2 separate regions of the Homo sapiens genome follow, and region 2 is linked to region 1. Evidence: promoter capture Hi-C in 16 types of primary human blood cells and fetal thymus (Javierre and others, 2016). All regions are on one chromosome and are shown on one strand. Each heading gives the region's core, a stretch centred on a gene start or on the middle of the fragment in contact. The rest is flanking DNA. Distances are from core to core; before and after follow the strand shown. Region 1 holds the start of NDN (necdin, MAGE family member). Region 2 holds the start of MAGEL2 (MAGE family member L2).

Region 1 (7,164 bases), core at 3,490-5,989:
TGAGGCAAGCTATTTTAATATGTCCCAGAAATAGCTCCAATTGGATGGTCATAGGATAGTCTGCAAAGAGGCTTAAATCACCTGGGCCTATTGCTATGCCTGTCTCTCCTCACTCCTCTCTGCTTGTTATTTTCTGTGGTTCTCAGTTGGGGACCGCGCTGCCCATAAAAGGGCTTTTGGTGGTGTGTGGGCATGGTTCCTTTTCTCTTTTCTCCACTTTCCTGTTAGTTTTCCCATGTCTGGAGGGCATTTATGTGTGCATGTGAAGGGAGACAGCCTCTGTGGCATGTGCTATGTTCTCACACAATGAAACATTACGCCATTCTCAGATCATTAAAGAGCCCTGCTCCAGACACTCTCAGGGTGATGTGATTTATCTTCTTTACCTTCCAAACTTAACTTTCCAGCGCAGGCGTTTTTGCTGAGTTGTGTCAATCCAGATATCCGCTGGGTAAGACCGTTCGGTCTTCCCACAATCTTCTGGTCCTTCTCTCTGCATGGTTTCAGGAAATGGCACCTGCATCTCATAGCTGCACTGTCCTGCTCAATTGGCTGCCTGAGACAGAATCCTGGATGTGCCTGTTATTCACAGTCTCCCCTCCCCTTCCATTGCTGTTTATATCTTTTGAACCTGGCATTTCTATTGAACCTCGGCTCCCTCTGTCCCACTCTTGGTGATAATATTGCTTCACAATATGCATCATAACATATGATTTGATCAGGCATTTGTTTTCTCTTTTAACGCTCTTTTTCTCCACCACTTTCCCTCAGTACAGATTACAGAGACCATGTCACTTCTCATTGTATCCCCAGGCACAAGGCCTGAAATGTAATGTTAGTAAACAGTTGGCGAATGAAGATGAAATGCAAGCCATCACCCATTTTCACATGGAGTCCTGGGAAGGGACCCCTAATGAGACTCCCTGCCTCTGCTTGTCCACCTGCCCCAAACTCTAATCTTACTCTGTATGCAGGTGACTTTTCAGAAGACACCCTAGACTCCTTAACTATCTGAGAGAGCTGCTCCTTGGGGCTGTGCAGAACAGAAAATTCTCCCATTTCAGTGCATGCGATGGACCTTGAATGGATGAGCATGAGCAGTGGCCCCCTAGGGAGGCTGGGGATGAGGGGCCAGGGTCCAGTCCCTCCCTACACCCTCCCAACTTTGGAAAGCAGCACTGCCTGTCCTAACTTCTTAATGTTTTCTAACAAAAAAAGGGGCCCAGCTGCCATGGGTTTTTCCCTCAGACTGAGACTTTTCTGAAATGCAAATATTTCAGGCACATGACGGATATTGCTCAATATTTGCTGAACACATTAAAGTGAATTCCGTTTAAGATCCTTGGCCTGAAAGGCATTTGGGGCCCATTTAGGGGCTCCAAGGTGGAGGTTGCTGCCTATGTGGACAGGGAAGAGCCAGAGGATTCACATTTCATCCAGGGCCTCTGGGCCCCTGCACTGCGAGCATGCGCACTTCCCACTAGAGGCTCTGGGGTGACCCCCCTTCCTCCGTTCACTATGGAAACCAAGGCTGGGACTGGCCTCTCCTCCTGTTCCTGGGTCTGCCAAGAACAGCCTATTCCACAGCTGTGTAATCTGTTCCGTATTACAGAGTTCGAAGTAACCCACCAGCAAAACTGTCTGCTCCAGAATATTTTAAGTTACAGCTTCTCCGTATATTTTCTGTGTCTATTCACAGAACTTCTATTTACAGAATTTTGATTTAATGAGTAGTTGAGATATATTTTTGTAGTCTTCACACTTTTCTACTAAGCTGCTGGCCCTGAGAGGACTTATTGCCCAACTCAAATAGGGGCCCCCCTGGAGACACCCAGCAAGATTTATTATCCCCATGACTCTCAGGACAGCATTAGAGCTCCATCCCAGATCTTGAGCCTTGGGTCAAGGTAGTTGTGGATGCCTTCCAAGTACTAGCTTCGTCTCATTTCTCACAGTGTCTTTGGTCCTTTTTGTTATTACTCTGAAGGTCGGAATCTCTGGTTCGTGGGCACACACCTTATTAGGCAGCCATCAAGCTACTGACCCGTCTATCCCATTGCACCTGCGCATGTGTGCTTTCCCCACTAACAGGCTATCCCAGGCTTTATTTTGTCCCACTACCCCACCTACCCAAACTTCTACTCCCAGTAATTTGATTTTGGGGGGGAATTGAACCTCTTCATTCTTCAGGAAGAAGATGATATCATTTTAGCAGGTGTACAGTTGGGCTCCAGGTCTAGCCTGTGCTTCATTTCAGACTTGTGCATCAGACCTAAGGCTTTAAGCCTTCCAAGTGTAATCTCTCAGGGTGGTCTTAATCGACAGGCCCTGGTACAGCATTGGACAACCCTTCTGTCAGAAGTGTAGTGTGTTGTGTGCTGCAGGAGAGGCCTTCTGCACAGTCTGCTTGATGCTGGCAACTTCACTAGAATGAAGTCCAGGTAGAAGTTATCCAGTCCTGCCCAGGCAGCAACTGAAGTCCAAGCAGCTCTCTGGCCAGAGCGCTGATACTCACTTCAGCAGAGCCACCTTTTATTGTTGTCATGCCCCAAGCCTGCACTTTAATTTCAAGAATCCATTACATCTCGGAGGGTGACATGTGAGAATGCAGTTTTAATGAGATCACAATGTTAAAAACCATAGCCTATGGCCAAAGCCAAGTTGAGATTTAAATAGTAGGTTCAAACACTTTTCTTATTAAAAAATATATCAAATGAACTAAATATTTTATTTCTTTATTTATTTAATGTTTGAGACAGTCTCGCTCTGTTGCCCAGGCTGGAGTGCAGTGGCATGCTCTCAGCTGACTGCAAACTCCACCTCCCAGGTTCAAGCGAGTCTCCTGCCTCAGCCTGCCAAGCAGTTGGGATTAAGGGTGCCCACCACCACACCCGGCTAATTTTTGTATTTTTAGTAGAGACGGGGTTTTGCCACGTTGGCCAGGCTGGTCTCGACCTCCTGACCTCAGGTGATCTGCCCGCCTCACCTTCCCAAAGTGCTGGGATTACAGGCGTGAGCCACCGCACCTGGCCTAAATATTTTATTTAAATAGTTAGAAAATAATACATACCCAAACAAAATAAAGAATAATATTGATGGAGATTTAAATGCAATAAATGAGGATTATATTTATGAAGCATGGGGGTAATAAGTCTGTTCAAGAGACATTCTTAAAAACAATGAATATAATTAGCATATTTCTGTAAGATGTTCCCAAGAAAATGGTAGATATCTATAAATAGAAGAAGGAGAAAAAGGAGAAGTAGATGGAGAGGAGAAGGAGGAGGTGGAGGAGGGTGAGGAGGAGGAGAAAAGTGTTGAAATAATTCCAACTAAGACTGATATCTAGGAATTACCCTGGTGAAGTGGGAAGCTTAAGAGTCCTGTTGGAGGGACTGGTGTGGTAATGGCTCTGCCAAAAGTGTTATGTGCGTGCAAACCCAAAGAGAGAAAGCACAGAAAACCTTTCAACATCAACCTGCTTGAGGAAAAATAAAGTGGGAAAAGATACATACTCACAGTGAGGACTCTAGACATGTCAAGACAATTTTTAAATATGCTTTTGGCTTCGAGTGGCAATAACTAGATTCAAGACAGCATATTTAAGAAGCTGCTGATGAGAAGAAACCCGGGAAGAGCTGAAGGACCACATCAGCCCAGACCAAGGATGCTGAAGCAGCATTAAGGTCCCTGGTTTCAGATGCTCAGGCAATGACCCTTTTTTTCATGGAGAGCCTGTAGGAGTGACAGTTTTGTCTTTGCCCACTGGGAATCTGTTTTCCATACCTGGAAAACAGGGTTACCTATGTTTCCCCTGCTACCCTTTGGTCATCTCAGAGACACTACCAGATATTACCCATGGGACCTATTTTTTTTTTAAATCTCAGGAAAGACTTGGGTGTGGCTTCCAACGTGGAGGACTCAGTAGCTTCAGAGAGGGTCCTGAGAGAAGGTGAATTGAAGAATGAGGGTGCTGGGCAGAGGGAAAAGACATTATCATACAAGTTTGTGCTAAAAGATATAGCAATCCTTCTGCTATGGACTAAGTATGGAAAAAAATAAAATGGAATCAAAGTTACCCAAAGGAAGTGTAAAACCCAAATTTATGCCCGTTAAAGCATTAATGATGCTCTAAGTCCACTGCCTACTTAAAAAGTTCATAGTTCACATGGGTTGATAGGAAATTACGTTAACGACACACTGCATTTCCCCTTTTCTTATAGCCTATCTGATTTGGTAGGGAGTCGATCATTTTTTATTGGAATTTCTCAGGATTCCAACCTCAGACATCCACTTTACAGTTTACACATTTTCTTGGACAAGCCCGACTGTTCCTCTCACTGGTTCGCATAAAGCTCATGTTTACAAAGCCGCCCAGACCTTTCTCTGGGACTCTCATATTTAACTTAATTCTGGATATACCCAGGTAAGCGTTTCCCAAGAAACTTGACCCCAACATCCCAAAAACTTAAGGTATCTTTCCCTTAAACTGGCCCCTTCTCCAGTACGCATCCATCTCACTTCTCTCCTGCCCTAGATCTTCTCAGCCCAAACAGGAAACCCCGGGATCGCTCTCCCAGCAGGTGAAGCCTCGCCATGGACCCTCCCCGTCGGGGCCCCGCGCTGCCCCGCCCGCCCCCAGCCGCTGGCCAAGGCCGCGGTCGCGCAGGCGCAGTGCCGCGTCCCGCCGCCGCCCCGCCCTGCCCGTCGCTGCGGAAGGCGCCGCGCGCAGCAACGCGCACTTCCTCTCCAGGAATCCGCGGAGGGAGCGCAGGCTCGAAGAGCTCCTGGACGCAGAGGCCCTGCCCTTGCCAGACGGCGCAGACATGTCAGAACAAAGTAAGGATCTGAGCGACCCTAACTTTGCAGCCGAGGCCCCCAACTCCGAGGTGCACAGCAGCCCTGGGGTTTCGGAGGGGGTTCCTCCGTCCGCGACCCTGGCAGAGCCGCAGAGCCCTCCTCTAGGCCCGACGGCCGCTCCGCAGGCCGCGCCGCCTCCCCAGGCCCCGAACGACGAGGGCGACCCGAAGGCCCTGCAGCAGGCTGCGGAGGAGGGCCGCGCCCACCAGGCCCCGAGCGCGGCCCAGCCGGGCCCGGCACCGCCAGCCCCGGCGCAGCTGGTGCAGAAGGCGCACGAGCTCATGTGGTACGTGCTGGTCAAGGACCAGAAGAAGATGATCATCTGGTTTCCAGACATGGTGAAAGATGTCATCGGCAGCTACAAGAAGTGGTGCAGGAGCATCCTCCGGCGCACCAGCCTCATCCTCGCCCGGGTGTTCGGGCTGCACCTGAGGCTAACCAGCCTGCACACCATGGAGTTTGCGCTGGTCAAAGCGCTGGAGCCCGAGGAGCTGGACAGGGTGGCGCTGAGCAACCGCATGCCCATGACAGGCCTCCTGCTCATGATCCTGAGCCTCATCTACGTGAAGGGCCGCGGCGCCAGAGAGAGCGCCGTCTGGAACGTGCTGCGCATCCTGGGGCTGCGGCCCTGGAAGAAGCACTCCACCTTCGGGGACGTGCGGAAGCTCATCACTGAGGAGTTCGTCCAAATGAATTACCTGAAGTACCAGCGCGTCCCATACGTGGAGCCGCCCGAATACGAGTTCTTTTGGGGCTCCCGGGCCAGCCGCGAAATCACCAAGATGCAAATCATGGAGTTCCTGGCCAGGGTCTTTAAGAAAGACCCCCAGGCCTGGCCCTCCCGATACAGAGAAGCTCTGGAGGAGGCCAGAGCTCTGCGGGAGGCTAATCCCACTGCCCACTACCCTCGCAGCAGTGTCTCTGAGGACTAGCAAAGTCTGGAGGCAGATGAATGGTTTCTGACCCTCACCAGGGCTGTGGAAGGGTGGGGGTGGGTCATTATAGTATTCAGGATTTACAGTGCAGTATTCACGTGTAACTTTTAAGTTTTCAGTACAGTGCTTTTATACCTTTAATGCAATGTTGTATTCATTTGGGTACTATTGTGTAGTATTTAGGATGTATGCATGTTTGTTTATATGTAAGCTTGGTTGGTGCTTTCGCTTTTGTGCTACCTTTCTTGGATTTTTGTACCAGAGATGTGCTAAACTGATGAAATACATTGAGAAAGTTTCCATCTTATTCTTTTATATGGGACTGATGATGTGTGTTGGGGTAGACTGCTCCTGCAGAGTTTGGAAGAAGTCACCAGCAAAGCCGGCCTAACCAAGAAAAGTCAAGGCCCTTCATGACCTTGCTGGGCACAGAAAACACCCTCGTGGAGTACACTAATTTGAACTGGACTGGTCTCAGTGTGAGCACTTGGCACACTTTACTAAACACATATACAACCCCACCGTGAGTCAACTTTAAAGTAAACATTAAAGATTCTTGTGATACAATCATTTTTGGAAAAGTGTACTTTATCATTTTAACAAAGCAGTATGGTTGGGAATGAGACAATTCTCTATTTTACAGTGTATACAGATACAACTATTTCCCCTAATAGGGTGGGAAAAATCGCTACTCATGATTACTCCTAAATTTGTGAAGTTTATAGTTCTATTGTCTTTAAATGTAACTCATGTTTATTTCAAAAACATTCACAAATATAGAAAAGTATACAAAACAAAACAGTAAGATTGTCTGTAATCACATCATATGGGAATAAAAAACAAAAATAATTTCCTTCCCTTAAGTTTCTACATTTTATCAAAATTAATAGATGTCTTGTGACATCTATTAATATACATATAACATATTTATAATATAAAAGAGTGAGACATTGTGCTAAGCCCTAACATGTATTTTTCTCCTTTAATCCTTGCAACAGGCCTGTCAGGCAGGCACCTACTGCCTCTGCACCATGGAGGAAACACAGGAATAATGTAGGTAATGAACTTTCCATAGCTCATAAAGGTTAATAAGAGAAGGAGCTAGGACTTGAACTCAGAATGAATCCAGAGCCCACATTTGTCTCCACCTGCCTACGACTGCCCTATACCCCGTGGCTTTTAGGTTATTTATTTTTAAATTTATTTTTACATTTTATGTGGGAGCCTACAATCACATGGGTTCATGGGCCACACATACAAAAAGGCTAGGAATTTTATTTTTCTAATTCTCATGATATTTTGGAGAAAGCAATATCATTCTGATTGTGCAAATTAAGAAACTTACTTTTGGAGAGGTTAATTAACCTAA
Region 2 (7,164 bases), core at 1,857-4,356, 39 kb after region 1:
TTCCTCAGGTGAATTTTGCTCACAAGTAATTTGTAAATAGCTAGGGAGAGCCCCAGGAACAGCCTGGGTCTGAGAGCACTGACTATCTGAAATAAGCAGATGTTTCTTCCAGGGAGAATAAACTGGGTTTACCCTCTTTACTTGTTCCTATAGAATCAATGGATACATAATCTCTGATTTTTCCCTGCCGGTTAAAGAATGTTTCCAAGCAGTGGCAATAGTGCTGGTGTAGAAGTTATTCATCTTCCATTTCTAACTACTCCTACGCACCTGTTTTTTCCTTTGTATAATGCCTAATCTTTTCTTTCTGGCTTTGGTGTTGCCTCTTAACATAAACCGGACCTCTTTTCATAGAACAGATTCGGTGGGAGTTGACACTGTATGTCAGTGCTATTCACTGACCTCCAACATCAGTGAGAATAGCCAGACCCTAGTGGGAGCCATTCATTGTGTGGGATGACCAACAGCATGGTGGACGGCAGGACAAACCTGTCATAATTCCCGAAAATAAACGGTTAGTGGGAGAACTTAATCTCTGTGTAGTTTATACATTTGCATTAGAGTGGAAAAAAAGTATGCTTTAGAAATGCCCTAGGCTAAAAAATAAACTGATTTTTCCAAAGCCATCCATAGCCAGTAACAGCCATGTAGCAGAGTTGATAATAGCAGGTCCTGAGGGTTAGGCATTTAGAGTTTGTCCTTCTACAGTGTTTCCAAACCCCCATGAAACTGAGAAATCCTGTGTGGATCTGGGCCATTAACCCAAGGGAGAAACGAAAACCATGAAACACGGTAGTATCCATTCTGCAGAAGCTTTTTGTGTGCTGTGGTAGATGGCCTTCTCTGGGGATACACAGGAGTGATGTCCAGTAGTCCACCCTTATCCTTGGGGGATATATTCTGAGACCCCCCTGTGGAGGCCTGAAACTGGAAATAGTACTGAATCCTATATGTACTACGATGTTTTCAACTGATAGCCGAGACAGCTACTAAGTGAATAACAGGCGGGTAGCATATACAGCATGGATACACTAGACAAAGGGATAATTCATGCCCCAGGCAGGACGAAACAGAACAATTTCATAATACTACTCAGAATGGCATGCAATCTAAAGCTTATAAATTATTTCTGGAAATTTCCATTTAATTTTTTGGACTGCATTTGATTGCAGGTAACTGAAACCACACAATGTGAAACTGCAGGCACAGGAGTGCTACTGTATTCGCTACCTGCTCATTAACCACTTAGTAGCTGCTTCAGATATCAGATCTACCATCGGTTTCCCAGTGTTTGTGTTCAAGGAACCCTTGTTTTACTTAGTAATAGCCCCAAAATGTAAGAATAGTGATCCTGGCAATTTAGGTATGCCAAACGGAAGCTATGAAGTGCTTCCTTGAAGGAAAAAGGTGAAAGTTCTTGACTTAATAAGGAAAGAAAAAATCGCATGCTGAGATTGCTAAGATATATGGCAAAAACAAAACTATCTGTGAAATTGTGAAGAAGGAGAATGAAAGGGATACATGGTATATATAAGGTTTGGTGCTGTCTCCAGGTTCGGGCATCGAGAGTTTTGGAATGTATCCCCTGCAGGTAAGGTGGGGGGGGCTACTGTATCATCAAGCACCCTTAAAAATCTGACTGTTTTGAAAAGAGTTTCCTGGGAATAACAACATCCCTTAAGTGTCCAGAAAATCACTGAAACTTTACCCCCAAATTCTTCTATTATTGTTTAAGGCAATAATAACATTGGGAGTGTGTACATACCTTCTCTTGGGTCCATAAATTACCAAATTTGAGGACCCCTGGCTAAGGGTACCTGGGAAGGAGTGGGGTGTACCCTTCATCGTCCTCATCTGCCCCCTGGTGGCACGTTTTGTCACTCTGGACTCCTGCCGTAGGCTGCCAACAGCCTATTTAAACGAAACATCCTTGATATTTAGTGCTTTGTATATTTCCAGAAAGCTTTTCAATTACTGAGATTATCACTTCCTCTCACCATAAAGTTGTATAGCATTGCCCAATAATACTATTGTCATCTGCTTTATCTGTTAATACTTGATTTGTCTCATATTTAAACTGATTTTTGTCACGAGAAGTTTCCCCAGAAATTTTTTTATTCTTTGCCTGTTTTTCCTATATATCCAAATATATCAATTTTTGATCTATTTATATACCCATTTTGTTATCTTCAGGTGCGTTATTTGGTTTTCATTTTTTAAATTTCTTTCCCATTCTGCAGATGAAAAATACTGAGAAACCTACTCTGTTCCTGCATCCGAGCCATTCCACAGGCAGTTTTCCCATACTAAAAATGCTGTCTTCCACTGATGTGTGGCATGTCTCAGTTCCGTGACTTCTTTTCCTCTCTCTCTACTCGCTGCTGTCCCTTTTCTCCATGTGTCTCTAACATGCCTGTGTTCTTCAAGACCCAGTGCAACCACATTCCCTCCCACAACTCTATTTTCATGAGGAATAGCCAAGCAGGACTCCCAAGACATCATACAGGAGTGCCTACAGGGTATCTCTCCTTGGCAGTCCCACAGCACCGCAAATGCCCTGTGTCTGCCAATACTCATCAGCCTCTCTTCCCGTGTGCCTCTCCTGGGACCCTAAGAGAGTAACAGTCCCTGCAACTTCCCACTTTCTCCAGGCAGGGACTTGTGTGCCTTTTCCATGTCTTTGACTCCTTTATTCAATTATAATACAGGTATCTGTCTGCTATAACTCCTGGAACTCTCTTATGTAAATGCGCTTTTTTCATTCTCCGCCTCACATCTTAGCCCAGACCACACCATCTCCCCCCGCCGTCTTGGATACCTTCCATGTTTCCAGTGGTCTGCTCCCACTCCACACTGCAGTACAGTGATTTTTCTAAAACATGGATGGGTTCCTGTCACTCCCCTGTGAAAAGTCATCCATGTGGAGTCTGACTGGTCTGCATTTGGGGACTGGACAGAGTGAGAAGGGATCCTGTGTCAGCCAGGACTCCGGTAGACGCCCCTATGCAATATCCACTTGTGGTGGTCGGGGGCGGGGAAGGGGCGGGATTGAGCCCCCTTCCCCCCTCCTCCTTACTGCGGAAAGCTGCGGAGCGAGCAGCACTCACTTCCTATTCAGCATTCAGCAGGGAGGGAGCCTCTGAACAGCCACGTAGGCATTCTCTTCTCTCTGGAGGAAAAGGCCCAGCAGCTGTCCGAGGAAAAGACCCACCAGCTGTCAGCAAAGGGACATGTCGCAGCTAAGTAAGAATCTGGGTGACTCGAGTCCTCCGGCGGAGGCCCCGAAGCCGCCTGTCTATAGCCGCCCTACGGTTCTGATGCGGGCCCCGCCCGCTTCCTCCCGGGCTCCGCCAGTCCCTTGGGATCCACCTCCAATTGACTTGCAGGCTTCATTGGCCGCTTGGCAGGCACCTCAGCCTGCCTGGGAGGCCCCACAGGGCCAGCTGCCCGCCCCGGTGGTTCCGATGACCCAGCCTCCTGCCCTAGGGGGCCCGATAGTCCCGGCTCCCCCGCTGGGGGGCCCGATGGGTAAGCCTCCGACTCCCGGGGTCCTGATGGTGCATCCTCCACCTCCGGGAGCCCCGATGGCCCAGCCTCCGACCCCGGGAGTCCTGATGGTGCATCCTTCAGCTCCCGGAGCTCCCATGGCCCATCCTCCTCCTCCGGGGACCCCAATGTCCCACCCTCCCCCTCCGGGGACCCCAATGGCCCATCCTCCTCCTCCGGGGACCCCGATGGCCCATCCTCCTCCTCCGGGGACCCCGATGGTGCATCCTCCTCCTCCGGGGACCCCGATGGCTCATCCTCCCCCTCCGGGGACACCGATGGCTCATCCTCCCCCTCCGGGGACACCGATGGCTCATCCTCCACCTCCGGGGACACCGATGGCTCATCCTCCCCCTCCGGGTACACCGATGGCCCAGCCTCCAGCTCCGGGAGTCCTGATGGCCCAGCCTCTGACTCCGGGAGTCCTGATGGTCCAGCCTGCTGCTCCGGGAGCACCGATGGTCCAGCCGCCTCCAGCAGCCATGATGACCCAGCCTCAGCCTTCAGGAGCACCGATGGCCAAGCCTCCAGGTCCAGGAGTCCTGATGATTCATCCTCCAGGTGCGAGAGCTCCGATGACCCAGCCTCCAGCTTCAGGAGCACCGATGGCACAGCCGGCGGCCCCACCTGCACAGCCGATGGCCCCACCTGCACAGCCGATGGCTTCTTGGGCCCCGCAGGCTCAGCCTCTGATCCTGCAAATCCAGTCTCAAGTTATAAGGGCTCCTCCGCAGGTTCCCCAGGGCCCGCAGGCACCCCCAGCGCAGCTAGCCACACCCCCGGGCTGGCAGGCGACCTCGCCAGGATGGCAGGCCACGCAGCAAGGCTGGCAGGCCACTCCCCTGACTTGGCAGACCACGCAGGTCACCTGGCAGGCACCAGCCGTTACCTGGCAGGTGCCGCCGCCCATGCGCCAGGGGCCCCCGCCCATCCGCCCTGGCCCACCACCCATCCGCCCTGGCCCACCACCGGTGCGACAGGCCCCACCGCTGATCCGCCAGGCCCCACCGGTGATCCGCCAGGCCCCACCCGTGATCCGCCAGGCCCCACCCGTGATCCGCCAGGCCCCCGCTGTGATCCGCCAGGCCCCACCTGTGATCCGCCAGGCCCCACCTGTGATCCGCCAGGCTCCACCTGTGATCCGCCAGGCCCCGCCGCTGATCCGCCAGGCGCCGCCGCCCATCCGACCTGCCCCACAGGTCCTGGCCACCCAGCCACCGCTCTGGCAGGCCCTGCCACCCCCACCTCCACTGCGGCAGGCCCCGCAGGCTAGGCTGCCGGCCCCGCAGGTGCAGGCGGCGCCGCAGGTGCCTACGGCCCCACCTGCTACGCAGGTACCCGCGGCGCCGCCCGCTGGCCCGCAGGTGCCCCAGCCTGTGCTGCCGGCCCCGCTGTCTGCCCCACTGTCTGCCCCGCAGGCTGTGCACTGCCCTTCCATCATCTGGCAGGCCCCCAAAGGTCAGCCCCCGGTGCCACACGAGATTCCAACGTCAATGGAATTCCAGGAGGTGCAGCAGACACAGGCGCTGGCCTGGCAGGCCCAGAAGGCCCCCACTCACATCTGGCAGCCCCTGCCTGCCCAGGAGGCCCAGAGGCAGGCTCCCCCCTTGGTCCAGCTGGAGCAGCCCTTTCAGGGAGCCCCGCCCTCCCAAAAAGCCGTGCAAATCCAGCTACCCCCCCAGCAGGCCCAGGCATCGGGTCCGCAAGCGGAGGTGCCCACACTGCCGCTCCAGCCTTCCTGGCAGGCACCGCCTGCAGTCTTGCAGGCCCAGCCCGGACCCCCGGTAGCAGCGGCAAATTTTCCCCTGGGCTCCGCTAAATCATTGATGACTCCATCAGGAGAATGCAGGGCCTCTTCTATAGACCGCAGGGGCTCCTCTAAAGAGCGCAGGACCTCCTCGAAGGAGCGCAGGGCCCCTTCAAAAGACCGCATGATCTTTGCTGCCACCTTCTGTGCTCCCAAGGCAGTGTCAGCTGCGCGAGCACACCTGCCAGCTGCCTGGAAAAACCTGCCTGCCACACCGGAGACCTTTGCTCCCTCCTCAAGTGTCTTCCCAGCTACCTCCCAGTTTCAGCCTGCCTCTCTGAATGCCTTTAAAGGCCCCTCTGCTGCCTCAGAGACCCCAAAGTCACTGCCATATGCTCTGCAGGATCCCTTTGCCTGTGTAGAGGCCCTGCCTGCAGTTCCATGGGTCCCACAGCCCAATATGAATGCCTCAAAGGCATCGCAGGCAGTGCCCACCTTCCTGATGGCTACAGCAGCTGCCCCCCAGGCAACTGCCACCACTCAAGAGGCCTCCAAGACCTCCGTCGAGCCGCCACGCCGCTCCGGCAAGGCCACCCGGAAGAAGAAGCATCTGGAAGCCCAAGAGGACAGCCGTGGCCACACGCTAGCCTTTCATGACTGGCAGGGCCCAAGGCCCTGGGAGAATCTAAATCTGAGTGACTGGGAGGTCCAAAGCCCTATCCAGGTCTCGGGTGACTGGGAGCACCCAAACACCCCCCGTGGCCTGAGTGGTTGGGAGGGCCCTAGCACCTCCAGGATCCTGAGTGGCTGGGAAGGGCCCAGCGCATCCTGGGCCCTGAGTGCCTGGGAGGGCCCGAGCACCTCCAGGGCCCTGGGTCTCTCTGAAAGCCCAGGGAGCTCTCTGCCCGTAGTTGTGTCTGAGGTCGCAAGTGTCTCTCCGGGATCCAGTGCCACCCAGGATAATTCCAAGGTGGAGGCACAGCCCTTGTCTCCCTTGGATGAGAGGGCAAATGCGTTGGTGCAGTTCCTCTTAGTCAAGGACCAAGCCAAGGTGCCTGTCCAGCGCTCGGAGATGGTGAAAGTCATCCTCCGAGAGTATAAAGATGAGTGCTTAGATATCATCAACCGTGCCAACAATAAGCTGGAGTGTGCCTTTGGTTATCAATTGAAAGAAATTGATACCAAAAACCACGCCTATATTATCATCAACAAGCTGGGCTACCATACAGGGAATTTGGTGGCATCCTATTTAGACAGGCCCAAGTTTGGCCTTCTGATGGTGGTCTTGAGCCTCATCTTTATGAAAGGCAACTGTGTCAGGGAGGATCTGATCTTTAATTTTCTGTTCAAGTTAGGGTTGGATGTCCGGGAGACAAACGGTCTCTTTGGAAATACTAAGAAGCTCATCACCGAAGTGTTTGTCAGGCAGAAGTACCTAGAGTACAGGCGAATCCCTTACACTGAGCCCGCAGAGTATGAGTTCCTCTGGGGCCCTCGAGCATTCCTGGAAACCAGCAAGATGCTTGTCCTGAGGTTTTTGGCCAAGCTCCATAAGAAAGATCCACAGAGCTGGCCATTCCATTACCTTGAAGCGCTCGCAGAGTGTGAGTGGGAAGACACAGATGAGGATGAACCTGACACCGGTGACAGTGCCCACGGCCCCACCAGCAGGCCCCCTCCCCGCTAATAGGTGTAGCAGAGATCTCGCTCCTGTGTTTCCCTGGCCAGAGGCCACTGACAGGGTGGGGGGACATTTTTGTTCCTGGTGTTTGTGTTCCAGTTCCACGAGTGTACGTTTGGATTTTCAACTTGGTTTCGTATCTGCCAAAGCTTTGTACATTTTTTATGTGGTGTTGATTTCAATCGGCTAC

Evidence for each region. The method cuts DNA at HindIII sites, captures the fragments that hold promoters and counts their contacts. A CHiCAGO score of 5 or more calls a contact.
Region 2: a contact is called between the fragment with the promoter of MAGEL2 here and the fragment with the promoter of NDN in region 1, in 1 of 17 cell types (neutrophils). The highest score is 5.0, in neutrophils.

What each region holds. Positions count from the first base shown.
Region 1 is chr15:23,684,880-23,692,043 of GRCh38, reverse strand. It overlaps NDN (necdin, MAGE family member), which reads left to right and starts at 4,739. Exons shown (of 1, transcript NM_002487.3): 1 at 4,739-6,644. The coding sequence starts at 4,827. The coding sequence ends at 5,792. The HindIII fragment of the contact is 2,633 bases long and covers 3,376-6,008 here.
Region 2 is chr15:23,643,809-23,650,972 of GRCh38, reverse strand. It overlaps MAGEL2 (MAGE family member L2), which reads left to right and starts at 3,106. Exons shown (of 1, transcript NM_019066.5): 1 at 3,106-7,164. The coding sequence starts at 3,231. The coding sequence ends at 6,980. RefSeq lists an enhancer at 3,819-4,663. The HindIII fragment of the contact is 5,160 bases long and covers 1,966-7,125 here.